Regions from separate parts of the Homo sapiens genome. Here region 1 is linked to region 2. Evidence: promoter capture Hi-C in human tissues and cell types (Jung and others, 2019). All regions are on one chromosome and are shown on one strand. Each heading gives the region's core, a stretch centred on a gene start or on the middle of the fragment in contact. The rest is flanking DNA. Distances are from core to core; before and after follow the strand shown.

Region 1 (4,076 bases), core at 1,303-3,802, 1.8 Mb before region 2:
TTGAGCTCAAGTGATCCACCCACCTTGGCCTCCCAAATTACTGGGATTACAGGTGTGAACCACTGTGTCTCACCTTAAAACATTTCTTGACTATCCTCAAACATTCATTTTCTCATTCAGAGGAAACTTATACTCAATTTATCAAGTTTCATTATGAAATTATATTGGGATTTTGATTTAGTTTGCTTTGATAATTTATGAATTAATTTGGGAAAGAAATGATTCCTTCACAAAAGTGAGCCTTCACATTCAAGGGCATGGAATGTTTTTCCCTTTATTCAGGCCACCTTTTGTGTTTGGGAGTGAATTTTTATAGTTTTATTCATATCAGTTTTGTACACTTTTTCAGGTGCATTCTCAGACATTTTATAATTTTTGTTGCTGTAATGAATGGAATTTTAAAAATTACAATTTCTGCTTGGGCACGGTGGCTTACACCTGTAGTTCTAGCACTTTGGGAGGATGAGGGAGGTGAATCACTTGAGCCCAAGAGTTCAAGACCAGCCTGGCAATATGGTGAAACCTCATCTCTACAAGAATTCAAAAATTTGCTTGGCATGGTTGTATGCACCTGTTGTCCTAGCTACTCGGGTGGCTGAAGTGGGAGGATTGCTTGAGCCCAGGAGGCAGAGGCTGCAGTGAGCCAGCCCGGGTGACAGAGTGAGACCCTGTCTAAAAATAATAAAATAAAATAAAATAGTACAATTTTTAATTGCTTATTAATGGTAAATAAGAATGTGCTTGTCTATTTTTTTCTTTTTTTTTTTTTGAGATAGGGTTTCGCTTTAGCAACCAGGCTGGAGTGCAGTGGCATGATCTTGGCTCACTGCAGCCTCTGTCCCTTGGGCTCAAGCTATCCTCCTGCCTTAGCCTCCCAAGTAGCTGGGATTACAGGTGTGCACCACCATGCCCAGCTAATTTTTGTATTTTTTGTAGAGACGGGGTCTCACCATGTTACCCAGGCTGGTCTCAAACTCCTGGACTCAAAGGATCCATCCACCTCAGCCTCCCAAAGTTCTGGGATTACAGGCATGAGCCACTACATCCAGCTTTTATGTTGTTTCATTTGTTCTGTTTGTTCTTTTGTCTGGCTAAACTGCCGAATTCTATTATTTTCATAGATTTTTAGTTGCTATGTTGGATTTTCTAGGTTGCTTTCTAGGGTGCCGCTTCTAGATTTTCTAGCATTGCTTCTTTATTTCTATGATTTATATCTTATATATTTTTTCTTGTCTTATTGTCTCTCGTATGCATCCATACAGTGTTTAACAATAGCAAGGATCATGGGAGCCAACCGCAGCACGTGGTTATTTCCTGAGGTCAGGAGACTTAGTGTGTATAATGGAGAGACACTGTCCCCTCCTCTTTACCCCTAGACTGCTTTCAGCTTCTCTGGTACCTTTTCCTTTTGTTACCATATCATTCATTTGCAGTTTGGCTTTTAGATGTTCCACCTTAGGTTACTATTTTCTTCCTTGTGCTTTGTATTATTTGAAATTTTCATTTCAAAGGAGAAAGGGAATCAAGTGTGAGCACTGAACTCTCCTCTTGAGACTTTGGCAGATCTATAATCTTATACAATTAGAATTTTTTTTTTTTTTTTAGACGGAGTCTCACTCTGTTGCCCAGGCTGGAGTGCAGTGGTGTGATCTCAGCTCACTGCAACCTCTGCCTCCTGGGTTCAAGCGATTCTCCTGCCTCAGCCTCCCGAGTAGCTGGGATTACAGGTGTGTGCCACCATGCCCAGCTAATTGTTTTTGTATTTTTAGTAGAGATAGGGTATTGCCATGTTGTTCAGACTGGTCTCGAACTCCTGACCTCAGGTGATCTGCCCACCTCAGCCTCCCAAAGTGCTGTGATTATAGGCATGAGCCACCGTGCGCAGCCTTTTTTTTTTTTTTTTTTTTGAGACTCTGTCACCCAGGCTGGAGTGCAGTGGTGTGATCTTGGCTCACTGCAACCTCCGCCTCCTGGGTTCAAGCGATTCTCCTGCCTCAGACTCCTGTGTAGCTGGGATTACAGGCGCCCGCCACCACACCCAGCTAATTTTTGTATTTTTAGTGGAGATGAGGTTTCACCATGTTACCCAGGCTGGTCTGGAACTCCTGGCCTTAAGCGATAGGCTCGCCTTGGCCTCCCAAAGTGCTAGGATTATAGGTGTGAGAGCCACCATGCCTGGCAGGCATTGCTTTTAATTGGCATTTCTCTGATTACTGCTGAGGTTGTGTCCCAATATGTTTATTGGGCATTTGTGTTTTGTCTTTGAAATTCCTATTTGTGTTTGTTGCCCATTTTTCTGTGGGTACTTTAAAAACCTTTATTGATTCTTTTTTTTTTTTTTTGAGAGAGAGAGTCTCGCCCTGTCTCCCAGGCTGGAGTGCAGTGGCGTGATCTCGGCTCACTGCAACCTCTGCCTCTCGGGTTCAAGGGATTCTCCTGCCTTAGCCTCTGGAGTATCTGGGACTACAGGCGCACACCACCATGCCTGGCTAATTTTTGTATTTTTAGCAGAGACAGGGTTTCACCATGTTGGCCAAGCTGGTCTCGAACTCCTGAGCTCAAGTGATCCACCTGCCTCGGCCTCCCAAAGTGCTGGGAATACAGGTGTGAGCCACTGCGCCCAGCCTTTTATTGATTCCTAGATATTCTTTATATATTCTGGATATTAATCCGCTGTCAGTAATATTAAATACCTGCTTTGTGCATTATCTTGTCATCCTTTTTTTCCACGAACATCTTAGTGTTTCGGATGGCAGTTTTCTGTTGCTGTGGTTTCATTATAAATCTGATTTCTCCCTAACTTCCAGGAATTCTTTAAGATTTCTGTTAACGATGCTGTTTATTTTTGCCAAGATTGTTATAAATGTTATTATTTAAAAATACGTTTTTTTCTGTCACTTTAAAGGTATTTGGGTTATGATAGAGAATAGCATTTGTGTTCACTTTGCCATCTTTATCCAGTTTTTGATATCTTTATTTAAATTAACAAGTAAAAATTATATATATTTATCATACACAACATGTTTGGAATATGTATATATTGTGGAATGGCTAAACCAAGCTAATTAACATGTACATTACCTCACATATTTATCATTTTTTTTTCTGGTGATGAGAACACTTTTTTTTGTGATAGTCAAGAATATAATACATTGTTATTAACTATAGTCACTATGTTGTACAGGGGATCTGTTGAATTTATTTCTCCTGTCTACCTAAAATTTTGTAACCTTGGACCAACATCCCCCCAATCCCCCTACAAACCCCACTGTTCTCCTCTCTACTTCTATGAATTCACCTTTTTCAGATTCCACGTATAAGTGAGATCATGTGGTGTTTGTCCTTCTTTGTTTGTCTTATTTCACTTAATGTAATGTCCTCCAGGTTCATCCATGTTATTGCAAATGACAGGATTTTCTTCTTTTTTAAAGGCTGAATAGTATTCCATTGTGCGTACTATTTACATTATCTTTATTCATTTGTCTGCTAATAGATAGGTTGATTTCCCATCTTGCCTATTGCGAATAGTGCTATAATGAACAGGGGAATGCAGATATTCCTTAAATACACTGATTTCATTTCCTTTGGGTATATACTCAGAATTAAGGTTGCTGGATCATGTGGCAATTATTTTTTAAAATAATTTTTTCTCTTCCTTCTCTAGAACCATTTCTGTATCTCTTTTTCCTCAGCTCCCTTTTTCCAAGCATCCAGCTAATCATCTTTAACCTGAAGTATTTGCTATTGTAGAAGTCCTATCTGATTTTGAGGTTACTCTCAGAGGTGAGGACTACATACTCCAGGAAGTTTTAAGCTGCCACATGGGGAAACATCTTGTTGCCCCCTCAGGAATTTCCAATGTGCTGCACTTAAAAAAAAATTACCATCAGACTTGCCTTCACACGTCAGCGAAGGCGTTTTATAGTTAACTGAATTTCCTGGTATACTCCAGGTTCAACCCAAACTGTTTACAAGCCAAAGCTTGCTGTTTAAAAGTCTTGCTGATATCCATTAGTTCATTTTCTTACCTTAGTGGGGCAAACTCATGAAAACATTTAAATCATAAAAAATACCCA
Region 2 (4,064 bases), core at 85-2,584:
TAGCATCTGCCACAAAATAAGGGCTCAATATATTTTCCCTTCAATTTACTTTAAAAATCATTACCATTGCCTAAATGAAATATTACTGACATGGATTTTAAAAACTGCACATGTAACTAATGTCTAAAATTGGGTCACGTGAAACCTATAACCTTGAAACTGAGAATTTCCTTTTAGACTTCATGACAATATACCAAACACTTAATGCACCAGGGGCTGAGGGGAACAGAGAACCTAATTAATCACGGTGACCTGATAAATGAGGTAACACCCCTAAAGCAAGTGGCTCTCCTTTAACCTCAGTTCCATTTCCCTACCCCCCCACACCATGTCCCTTCAGATCATTTGATCTGAAGAGTTGAGGTGGGTACTTATTCAAAATGAATAATCAAACTTGCCTCCCAATTCCCAAAATCTGCAAGGTCCCTTAGACCTCTAGAAGTGCAATTTTGCTGACAGGAGAATGAAGGAAATTACTCTCATCCAAGGCGATTACCTCCACGAATTCTTAAAGGGTTATGTTACATAGTAGAATCCAGGTATTAATATAAAAACTGTAACTTCAAAATACTATAATGTTTCAATCAACAAAAGTGGGCAGAAAAAAAATTAAAAATTTTAAAACCCACCACTTCAGAAGCATTATGCTTTAGTACTCGGATAGTCTCAACATGGGAAGAAAACATCACTTTGTCAGTGAGTAACTTCTGATAAGTATGTGGAAATGTAAGCCACTCCGCTCGAAAAATGCACGCAGGGGGAATGACACGCGCGGTGCGGTTACCGTTGTGTCCCGATATCTGAGGCCGTTAAACGACGAGAAGAGCGGCAGTGTCTGAAGCACGCCTTCCTACCTCTCCTCCGCCCGGCCCCGCTTCCGGGACTCCAGTTCACCCGCAGCACCCTGACTGCAGGTGCCAAGTCACAACTGCAAAGAAACTTCCTTTTCTCGAGCGGGGGTGGGACTTGGCCGGGTCCCGAGGCCCCTGGCCGGCGGGCTCGGACGTTAGGAGCAGAACCAGCTCCAGGTCCCGGTCTGTCCGGGCGTCGCTGCCCTCTGAAGCTCAGGCCGGACGCCCCAGTCCCTGGCCGAACAAGGTGCCGCGGCCCACCCACCCCGGTACCCGCCGTCCGACCCCGTTGCCCTGCACCTGAGGATGTTGTCAGCATAGGTGAGCAGCAGCTTGGAGGCCTCCAAAAAGGTCTCCGGGGTGTTCTGGCAGAGCTCAGCCACGGCCGGGGACGCCGAGCCTGAGGAGCTGCCCAATGCCGCCGCCGCCATGCTTGAGCGCCAGCGGGCGCCGCCGCCGCCCCTCGCTCTCCGCGTCCCACACTGAGCAGGCGCCTCAGCGCGCAGCAGCTACCGCAGCCACCGGCAGGGGCGGGGTCCTCGGCCGGCAGGGGCGGGGTCCTCGGCCGGCAGGGGCGGGGTCCTCGGCCGGCAGGGGCGGGGTCCTCGGCCGGCAGGGGCGGGGTCTTCGGCCGGCAGGGGCGGGGTCGGGGGCCTGGGGCGGGGTCGGGGACCGGGGCCAGGAGCGGGGGAGCTCGGCTGGGAGCTACGGCTGCCCCTTCGCGGGGGGCAAGGGGCTGTTCGGAAGAAGGTGGGGGGCCTCGGCCGGCAGGGGCGAGGTGCTTCGACCCAGAGTTGGGGCCTGGTCGTACAGGTTGGGAAGGGGTTCCGCAGGGAGAGGCGGGGCCTGGGCTCCGGGGCTGAGGGGTGTGGGCCTGGAGGAGGGGGATGTCGAGTCCTTTAGGACGGAGGAGCTCGGCTGGAGGGGAGGCCGGCTTTGGTCTAGAGGTATCGGGCGAATGGTGCTGGCACGTGCCTCTCAGAAACCCGGATCCCTTTGCGCTCCGGGGCCAGCCTAATTGATCCAGCTATTAAGGTGGAGAAACCGCATGTACCTCCCTCCTTTCCCCACAAATAAAACCACCTTAGAGCCTTCTCTTCGCAGATTGTCAGGACGTTCTACATAGATGTGGATGAAAGACTACAGAAGGAAGGAGCAACAAACGTCAAAAACAAAACCATGGCTATAAACTCTGCTGGGTTTGTTATATGGATTCTTTTCAGAATTTGGCTAATGACTGAAAATCTAAGTTCCAGCTCAACTAGTATATGATTCCTCTGTAAGGAAGTGTATTTTTAAACCATAGGTTGCGACATAATAATGGGTTGTGGATTCGGTTTACCGCGTGGTGACCAGCGTAAAACACATGCATAATAATTACGCAATATTATAGAATGTCGGGGGCGGGAAGGGAATAAAAATTTGCATCCCACACAGTAAGGGTAAGTAATATTTTGTGACTTGTTTTTTAGGTAGATCATGTGATCAAGGTCTTTTATTCCTCTTAGAAGATGCATCCCTTACTACTTTAATCCAGTCTCTTCCCCACCATGTTCTTGAAAGTGTACTTTACCAGTGGCTTCCTTCTTTGCAGAAATTCCTTTTCAACCTCACGAAGTATTTTTCTTGACTTTATTTCTTAAGATAAGTGATTTGCCTGAATAACCTCTTTTAAATTTCTTGATGTTTCATCTGTTTACTTTTAAGAATTGAAATTTTCTTCCAGAATCTCCGAACAAGACCCTAAGCTATGACATCCAGTTCAATGACTATTCGTCTCCCAAATATACGTACGCTTTTAATAAATATGTAAATCTTTGGACCACCTTCCAAGTATGGTGTGTTCAACAGATAGTAGTATGTTACTACCGTCTGTAACTAAAATTTTCAGGGGCTTAACACAAGAGTAATTTCTTTCTGGCTCATATAACACTTTAATAATGCAGGTGTCATAATGTCAGTGGACCCAGTCTCCTTCCATACCTTAGAACAGGGGTCAAGAAACATTTTCTGTAAAGGGCCACATAGTGTTTTAGGCTTTGTGAGCCATAAGGTCTGTCTCAACTATTTAACTCTGCCTCTGCAGCTGTTGCTCCACAGACAATACTTGAAAATAAATGGGCATGGTTATGTTCTAGTGAAATTTTATTTACAAATCCAGGCAGCCTGCTTGGACAAAAAAAAAAAAAAAAAAAAAAAAGTCACACCTACTTTTAACCACATGAGCCCAGAAATGACACACAGCATTTTCTCTACCATATCATTACTAAGAATGAGGCCTCATCAAGATAAAAGGGGGTATTTCAGTAAGGCCAGATTTACAAAAAATAAAAAAAAAATTTAAAAACACATAAAAAGATAAAAGGGGAGAGTCTGGGAAATGTAGTCTCGTCCAACTACACAATGGATTGGGGGCTTGGGTCTGGAGATATAGCTATCACAAACTTTATTCCTCTTAATTTGGGTTTCTTTTTCCATTGATACATTTATTTATCCTTTACTAATTATATGAGAATAGTATATATTATACAGTACTTGTAACTTTTAAAAATGCAACAGAACTTTTTTTTTTTTTTCAAATAAAATTTTAGGGGCTGGACATGGTGGCTCACGCCTGTAATCCCAATACTTTGGGAGGCCGAGGTAGGTGGATCGCTTGAGCCCAGGAGTTCAAGACCAGCCTGGGCAACATGGCAAGACCCCATCTCTACAAAAAAAAAACAAAAACAAAAACATAGGAAGATTGTCTATATACAAAACACCAAAGTGGAAATGCTCTGGTATTGAAGCAGAGGTGTCAAGTGAAGGGCAGAAAGCTGTCAGCTAAGGCTTTCCCCTGACAGATAGAATGGTCATAGGGTACTTTTGTGGGGGAACAAAATGACTTTTGTTTTTCTCTTCATAATAGTTTGTTTCCTCAACTAAAACGCTATCTCACTGTAAGTTATCATTAGTTTTGTCTTCCCTATTTGATTAAAAGTCTCTTGTGCCATCTGTCTCAGACTGCTTTGCACACAGCAGGTACTGAATAGAGTTGTTGGTTAATCACTCAATGTAGTCACACAATAGTGAATCACTATACAAATTCCTGAAAGACTTCAACTCCTCCCCTTGCTAATGGTTTTTATGGAGGTTAACTTTTTAATATCACCAAACCAATCGTGGGGAAAATTTACAGAGTTCTTTCTTTTTTGTTTTATTAAAGAATAGTGT

Evidence for each region. The method cuts DNA at HindIII sites, captures the fragments that hold promoters and counts their contacts. A contact is called where the count stands out against the background at its distance.
Region 1: a contact is called between a fragment that was not itself captured here and the fragment with the promoter of NGLY1 in region 2, in 1 of the 25 tissues and cell types used here (dorsolateral prefrontal cortex).

What each region holds. Positions count from the first base shown.
Region 1 is chr3:24,006,631-24,010,706 of GRCh38, forward strand. No RefSeq gene overlaps it. Among named protein-coding and RNA genes, the nearest start is that of NR1D2, 63 kb to the left of the region's middle. The HindIII fragment of the contact is 4,726 bases long and covers 190-4,076 here.
Region 2 is chr3:25,782,109-25,786,172 of GRCh38, forward strand. It overlaps NGLY1 (N-glycanase 1), which reads right to left and starts at 1,335. Exons shown (of 12, transcript NM_018297.4): 1 at 1,152-1,335. The coding sequence starts at 1,282. RefSeq lists enhancers at 685-764, 925-974 and a silencer at 1,285-1,524. The HindIII fragment of the contact is 13,519 bases long and covers 1-4,064 here.